Linked DNA regions of Homo sapiens: region 2 is linked to region 1. Evidence: promoter capture Hi-C in 16 types of primary human blood cells and fetal thymus (Javierre and others, 2016). All regions are on one chromosome and are shown on one strand. The core of a region is centred on a gene start or on the middle of the fragment in contact, and the rest is flanking DNA. Distances in the headings are between cores, read along the strand shown.

The links. Contacts are between HindIII fragments. The CHiCAGO score rates a contact against its expected background, and 5 or more counts as called.
Region 2: a fragment that was not itself captured here is called in contact with the fragment with the promoter of OCIAD2 in region 1 in 1 of 17 cell types (endothelial precursors); the score reaches 6.2 in endothelial precursors.

What each region holds. Positions count from the first base shown.
Region 1 is chr4:48,904,596-48,908,504 of GRCh38, forward strand. OCIAD2 (OCIA domain containing 2) reads right to left here and starts at 2,179. Exons shown (of 7, transcript NM_001014446.3): 1 at 2,063-2,179; 2 at 1-16. RefSeq lists a silencer at 1,857-2,116 and an enhancer at 2,407-2,486. The HindIII fragment of the contact is 6,070 bases long and covers 444-3,909 here.
Region 2 is chr4:48,696,584-48,700,492 of GRCh38, forward strand. The region is part of intron 2 of FRYL (FRY like transcription coactivator); the gene reads right to left. Among named protein-coding and RNA genes, the nearest start is that of FRYL, 82 kb to the right of the region's middle. The HindIII fragment of the contact is 943 bases long and covers 1,200-2,142 here.

The DNA.
Region 1 (3,909 bases), core at 929-3,428:
CTCCTTGACCCAGTGTCTAAGGAAGGTAGAAGAGAATCACTATGCCATGACTAAATGTTTGCATCAAGCTTAAAAGCATCCTGAGGATCCACTGGAGTTATTTGGAAAATGTGTTTTTCCTTTTGTCATTAGTCCATCTGCAAACTCAACTTCCAGTGCTCCTCTTCCACCAGCACACATACATGCACTCACTAATGGGGACAGATCAGATTTAGAATAGAGTGGAAATACCACACTGTGCACTGAGTGTCGATTATGTGCCAGGCCAGGGGATATGAAGAAGGATAAGACAAGATCACCGCTGTGAAGGAATTCACAGTCCAAAAGGGGAGATAGACAAGTCAACAGTTACACAACATGAAAAGTATGCATGGGATGCTAAGGAAGAAAAGAAAGCAGGGTCCATTCCATCTAGTCATGTCACAAAGGAACTAGGACTCCTAAGCTTTCAGGAGGATCTGTGGAGGGTAGATGGACTCTGGGGCAGGAGGACCAGGTTGGAAGGTGGTACACTAGTCCAGACAAGGAGTTACAGGGACGTGAACAAAGACCCTGGTGGGAATTTAGCATCTTTGATAGAGATGCTAAATTTGGGTTTGGAAATGTTGGATTTGGGTGCCTGTGGGGGCAAACAGTGGAATTAGCCACTGTTAATATTTGACGATTTGGGTCTAGAGTTCCAGAACAGGGGTAGGCTAGAGAGATGAAGTTGGGAGCTGCCATCATAGAGATGAGAGTTAAAGCAGGGAACTTTAATAAATGTGTCTAAAAACAGTACTGGAGAATATGAACACTGAGCCCAAGGGAATATCGAAAAGAGAAGAAAGATTAAAAAAAAAAAAGCAGGCCAAGGAAATGACTGAGAAGGAATAGCTGATACAGAGGGGAGGGAATTTCTGAAGGAGGGAGTGAATCATCAACACCATCACATGGCTTAGAAAAGTGGACCCTGGATTTGGCAATGATGGACATAATCCAGGTGGACTTTGAGCCTCCTCCTGCCCCCAGTGGCCACTGCATTCTGCAGCCCTGAACTCTACCTCTACCTCTGCTTTTCTTCTGCAAAATGAACCTCTTATATACAATTCTGTTTCCTACATCAGTTACTAAACTTTGAGGCATTTGAGCCAAGGGGACCCGTACTCGCACCAAGTTTCATCACAGGTGTCTAATGTGATTACAGGGGCAGCACGGTGCCCTGCACGGGAAAGTACTGGGGTCAGAGAGACCAGAGTTCAAATCGTGACTCTTTACCCCTGCGATCCCTTTGGTGCAAATGACTTAATCCGTCTCTGCCTCAGCTTTCTCCACTGTTAATTGGGCATAATGGACACAACAATGGTGAGGGGCTCTTGCAGGAATGAAGACTAGGATGAGGATGAGGATGAGGGATACGTCCATAAAGCCCCTGCACACCTTCCATTTCCTGAGCACTCCCAGGAAGTCTTTGCTGACCACGCCAAATTAGATTATCTTTGCTTAGCCATTAGGCCGCTGCCCTATATTGGGAGGCAAATATACCTCTCAGCTTCGGTGGCCAGGTCCCCTGGCACCCACTTAGTCCTCAGTCTGCACCTAAAAGCAAGCCTTCCGAGGGTCTTGCCTTGCAGGTGTAGCTCCCACCCCCCACGCTGGGGTGGTCCGGGGACCCTCTGTTTCCTCAGTGGTGGGGAAGGGACCCGTGGGTTCGTGGGTGCTGACCGACGAATGTGCGGAGGAGGGCGCGCCCCAGCATGGGGGGCGGGGGTGCTTCTTAGGATGGCTTGGAGGGGGGCGCCTGCAGGGCTGGACGGCGGACGGGGGACACTGCACTTTCTGATGCGGTCGGGGAAGCCGGGAGTCAGCCTACTGGAGTCCGCTGCCATCCCTGGCCAGAAGCAGCCAGCGCCACCCCAAGCTCCCCAGCCCCTCGCCCGTGCCGGGGCCGCCGGGGTCCGAGTTAGGGGAGAGTGGGGGGCGGCCACCGCTGCACCGCGCGGCCTTCGAAGGACTGCCCTGCGGCGCCGCGTTCCCCCGAGGCCACCCCCTCCCGCCGTCAACACTCCCCGGGGCGGGGGCTCACCTGTGTGGTCTGGGTCGCCTCCGAGGCCGAGTCCCTCGTTGCCAAGCCCAGCAGGCCTCGCTCCCCCGTGACTGCACCGCCGGCCCGCTCCAGCTTCCCGAGTACCCCACCTGTCTCCCCGGCTTCCTTCCGGCCCTTTGTGTTTTCTTCTCTTGCTCCGCCCCCTCGCCTGCCCGCTAAGCACTTAAGCTGGTGAAGTCACCCTACTGCCACCTGGCAGTCACTTTCGCTGTTGGTGGCAACCCAGGCTGGAACCCAGCTCTTGCCGGAACCCCTGCCCCATCCTTGAGGCTTGTCCCGACACCGAGTAGGTTCTAGTTCCTTTGTGCCTTCCAAATGACTCCCTTCCTCCAGCAATCACAGCCGCAACAGCCATGTATTGCGCCCCCGCCCTAGGCCAGGCGTGGGCATCACCTTTGCACTCCTTTCTGCAGCCGTGTGTGGTGCCCACTGTGACCTGCACTTCACAGACGGGTCATCTGAGTTGTGCAGGCCACTAAGGGAGCCTGGAGTCAACCCCAGGCCTGCTTGGCTCCCAGGCCTTCTCTTTCCATTGCTCTTTGTCGGTCCCCTGCTGCCTCCTGTCCCTCCCCAACTCTGACTTGTGGAGGGAAGCCTTTGACATGTGGGGGTACCTTTAATACCGATATCACTTGTTACCGGAGAGGGGTCCCGATCCAGACCCCAAGCGAGGGTTCTTGGACTTCTCGCAAGAAAGAATTCGGGGTGAGTCCGTAGAGTGAGAGCAAGTTTATTAAGGAAGTATAGAAAACAGGCCGGGTGCGGTGGCTCACGCCCATAATCCCAACACTTTGGGAGGCAAAGGCAGGCAGATCACTTGAGCTCAGGAGTTCAGACCAGCCTGGCCAACATGGTGAAACACTCTCTCTACTAAAAATACGAAAAGTTAGCCAGGCATGGTGCTCTATGCCTGTAATCCCAGCTACTCGGGAGGCTGAGGCAGGAGAATCGCTTGAACTCCGGAGGCAGAGGTTGCAGTGAGCCGAGATTGCGCCACTGCACTCCAGCTTGGGCGACAGAGCCAGACTCTGTCTCAAAAAAAAAAAAAACAAAAAAAAAACAAAAAACAAGAAGAACAACAACAAAAAAGAATGGCTACTCCACTGGCAGAGCAGCTGTGTGGGCTGCTTAGCTAATTATACTGGTAGTTATTTCTTGATTCTATGCTAAACAAGGGGTGGATTATTCATGAATTTTCCAGGAAAAGGGTGGGCAATTCCCGGAACTGAGGGTTCCTTCACTTTTTAGACCATATAGGGTAACTTTCTGACGTTGCCATGGCACTTGTAAACTGTCATGGCCCTGGTGGGAGGGTCTTTTATCAGGCTAATGCATTAAAATTAGCATTTAATGAGTAATGAGGACGACCAGAGGTCACTTTCATGACCATCTTGATTTTGGTGGGTCTTGGCTGGCTTCTTTACTGAGTCCTGTTTCATCAGCAAAGTCTTTGTGACCTGTACCTTGTGCCAACCTTCTATCTCATCCTGTGACTAAGAATGCTGAACCACCTGGGAAGGCAGCCCAGTAGGTTTCAGCCTTATTTTACTCAGTCCCTATTCAAGATGGAGTGGCTCTTGTTCAAACACCTCTGGACACAGTTACCCCAGCCATGGCTGACAAAGTTTTCTGGGCTGAGCTGCCAGGACTGACTGAGTGTGTTGACTTGGAGAGAGGCTGTGGATCTCCACTGAAGGCCCTCTTCATTTCTCACCTTTTCCTATTGTGCGAATTGGTCCCTGTACCTGTGGCCGCTTCCTCCTCACGCCTCCCCGATCCACACCTCCAACTTGTTGTTTCTCAGATTCACACAGCTCTTTTCCACT
Region 2 (3,909 bases), core at 421-2,920, 210 kb before region 1:
CTTAAAACCTAAATGATGGGGGGATAGGTGCAGGACACCATTATGGCACACGTATACCTATACAACAAACCTACACGTTCTGCACTTGTATCCCGGAACTTAAAGTATAATAAAATATATATATACATAATCAAATTAAATTACTAACTTTTAGTTTCAATGGTATTATTTTTCTCCTGCCTGCTTAATGATACTATTATTAAGCAAGAAAATAAGAAAAAAAAAACATAAGCCCAGTATAAAAGAAAAATAACGATAAGAGATCTATCTATCTATCTATCTATCTATCTATCTATCTATCTATCTATCTATCACTTTCACAAGTCAACCATGATCAACAGCACTCTTAAATCCATCAGGTTTTGGCTCAAACAATCTCTGCTTTTGTCTTAAAATGAATAATTTTTCTCCAAAAAAAGTCAATTACAAGGTTTTTTCCTATATGCATCAAATTTCAATAAACTATTATGGTGTAACTGAAGAAGAAGAATAAAGGAAGCTACATCGAAGACTTGGAATTTTAAACCACAATAAAACCTTGTACACTAAGGATAATAAGGTCAATTCCTATATTTTTATATACTATAAAATACCATATGATACAGTAAAAGACATTTCTTATAACAGCCTGAAAATTATGACTCTTACTTTCTTTCCATTTTTACCTAAATTTTACCTAAAATTTCCATTCTTTTGAGGTTTTGACTTATTTGGAAAAAATCTAGAATTTTACCAAAATTAATATAATTTCAGATTTGTAAACAAGGGAAATGTTTACAAACTTTTTTTACTTCAAAAAATAATGTATTTTTACAGGTGCCAATTTTAAATCTCCAGCTCTAGTTTACATTTCTCACCTTTCTTGGATTTCTCAATGTTGATTATAAACTAACTAAAATGAAGCATACTTCTATTTTTATTTTTTGGGATGGAGTCTCACTCTGTCCCCCAGGCTGCGGTGTCTCAGCTTACTGCAACCTCTGCCTCCTGGGTTCAAGCAATTCTCCTGCCTCAGTCTCCTGAGTAGCTGGGATTACAGGTGCACGCCACCACACCCGACTAATTTTGTATTTTTAGTAGAGATGGGGTTTCACTATGCTGGTCACGCTGGTCTTAAACTCCTGACCTCAGGTGATCCACCCGCATGGGCCTCGCATGAGCCACCATGTCTGGCCCTAAAATGAAGCATACTTTTAAAAAGCTTCATAGAGAAGTACTTAAAGAAAAAAATGAAATAGAGAATTTGCATTGGCAAAGAAGAAATAAGAATGGTAATGATGAGGATAGTACAGAATGGGAATAGCATCTCTGGAGACTTTTCATTAAAGACCTGTTAGTGATCAAGTTGAAGGATACAATTGAACCAATTGATGTTGAGGCATTTCCACAGGCACAGGGAGACCTGCATTTAACATTTACTGGGGATCAACCTAAGCTCCAGGAATCTATACTCAGTGGCACTTACACACACAGCTGCTACCATCAAGGAGTTTACAGACAAGCTGGAAAGGAGACATGGGCAGTAGCATGTTTCAAGTGCTTTGAGAGAAGTTACCTAAATATGTTCAAGCTGCAACCAGGTACAAAGGAGACAGTCATCAACCTGAGTGGAGAAGGGAACAGGAAAGACTTCACTGAAGAAGTGGTGCTCACAGCTCCTGTTACCAGAAGACTTACTATAGCCACAATCTGTAACTACGCGAATGGGTTCTTGCCTCTCTTTGAGAAGCTAGCTAACTGATGACTTTTAAAAAGCTACATAAGTAACATATTCAGGTGTTAATAAACAAGATGTTTTTCCTGTAAGCCTCCCTGCCACAATTTCTCAATGTGACGTGATGGGCTCCAAAGCTGGATGCTATCACACACCCTCTGAGTTACACAACAGCTCCTGGCTCTGTCCCAAAAGTGGTTATCTTGGTATTGCCTCCTCCCCATGTTTGTGAAAGAAAATACTGTGCTGGGTGAGATTTACACTGATTGACAGTTCCTCTCGCTCTAGAAATGTATAAAGCATAATAAGCAGTTTATTCAGATCAACATCCTCTGTAGAGAAAATAACACATTTCCAAGTTAGTAACAAAACAACATTCCAAATTAGTTTGGTCACTATGGATGACCATATAGAACATGCCACCACAAAGCTTAATCCTTCACATTCCAGTACACATCCTGTAACTCTGAAAAAACATGCATATAAGAGTCAGTAGGCACCACCCCCACCCCAACCCCCACAAATAGGCTTTATTCTCCACAGTGGTTAAGTCAGTCTAAACAAGTAACAAATATAGGAGGGTAGAATTCAGAATTGGTTCACTGCACTCTAACAAATGGTGCCCTAGAAATCCAAGTTAATTAAATACCCATAACAACAGCAGCAACGACTAATTACCGAGAGCCTACTATGTGTGACCATCTAAGATGCTTCACATATGTTACTTCATTTTAACCCAAACCAGCCCATAATTTCAGTAAATGTTCAACTTTACAAATGTGGAAACTGACAAAGCTAATAAATGAACTGAAAAGTACTGTACCTCTGGATTATATTTTAAAGTATAAGCTGTTATATGGAGTTGAGATAAAATTCTCAAATTAAAATGCAATTATTTTCAATGGCTGTTTGGAAGATAAAATGCAATTATGATTTCAATATGTCCTTATATTGATTCTGAACCTCAGAACAGAAAAAGCTAGAGAACTCTCAAAAAGGATAACTAAACATAATTAACACATCATTTGCTTTAAATATTTCATGAAAACATAAGAGTTTGCCCTATCAAAAGTAAAAAATAGTGGGGGATGGGAAAGAGATCATACTGTGACCAACAAATCACAGAGATGCTTATTTGAAGACTAAATTCAATCCTCATCTGTTAATATCTTACTATTTAAAGTTCAATGAACAACTTCATAAAGGAAAGAGATTGTCCTTTGTTTCAGCCAAGATTTTTAAATCTTTAATCTAAAATACATGCTTCTCAAAGATGGATGCTAACAATTTAAACAAGGTGCTAATTCAATCAGTTGCACAATTCTGGCTCAGCAGTTTCTCTATTACAGGGAAAATGTGACAAAGTAAACAAGCCCTACCTGTGGTTTAACATGAAAATTCCCTCCACTCCACATAAATCGCCCTTCTTCTTCTGGGTCCCTACATGCCTCTTTTCCTTTTTCCTCCTCTATTTTGAGAGAATATTTGGCCCCTGGATCAGTTTACTGGTGTTCAGGGTCATCTGAATTGTATCTTTTGAATATTGTCTACAGATCCAGTTCCCAATCTAGATTTGCTACTACTCTTAAGAATTTTAACATACATTTAAATCATATTAAGCTAGATATTAATGTTAACTAGAATATTTATTAGAGTAAAGCAAAAAGACAAAAAAAATTTAAGTGCTCTAAAAACCTAACACCAGGTATAGTATAATAAAGGAACAGAGTCCGACTGCCTATCGAGCACTGCACTAGGCAGTGAGAGACACGAATGATGAATAAGACACCACCTACCACCTTAAGGAATTTGTGGTGTGGTGTGACTCACCCAGCTAGCTCTATACTGTCTCAGAAGGAGATTGTGGTAGAAAGTTCTAATACGGTACAAATGCAGTTATTACAGAAAAACAAAAGATTTTTTTTTAATATATCAGGCTTCTGAATTAATGCCATGATTATATTTGAAGCTGTAATACTCACGTAGAACTTAAAATGAGAGGGGAAATAAGACACCGGGAGGGCAAAGTGAGACACTGGGTCATTTCTCCCACCTCATCAGGTTTTTTTCACCATCACTACTAGTTACATAAATCCTACGTGAAATGCAGTATTTTACTTATGACAATTTTACATTTTAAGCCTTTCATAAACCTGTCAAACCATGAGCTACAATGAATATTTTTGCTTTTATAG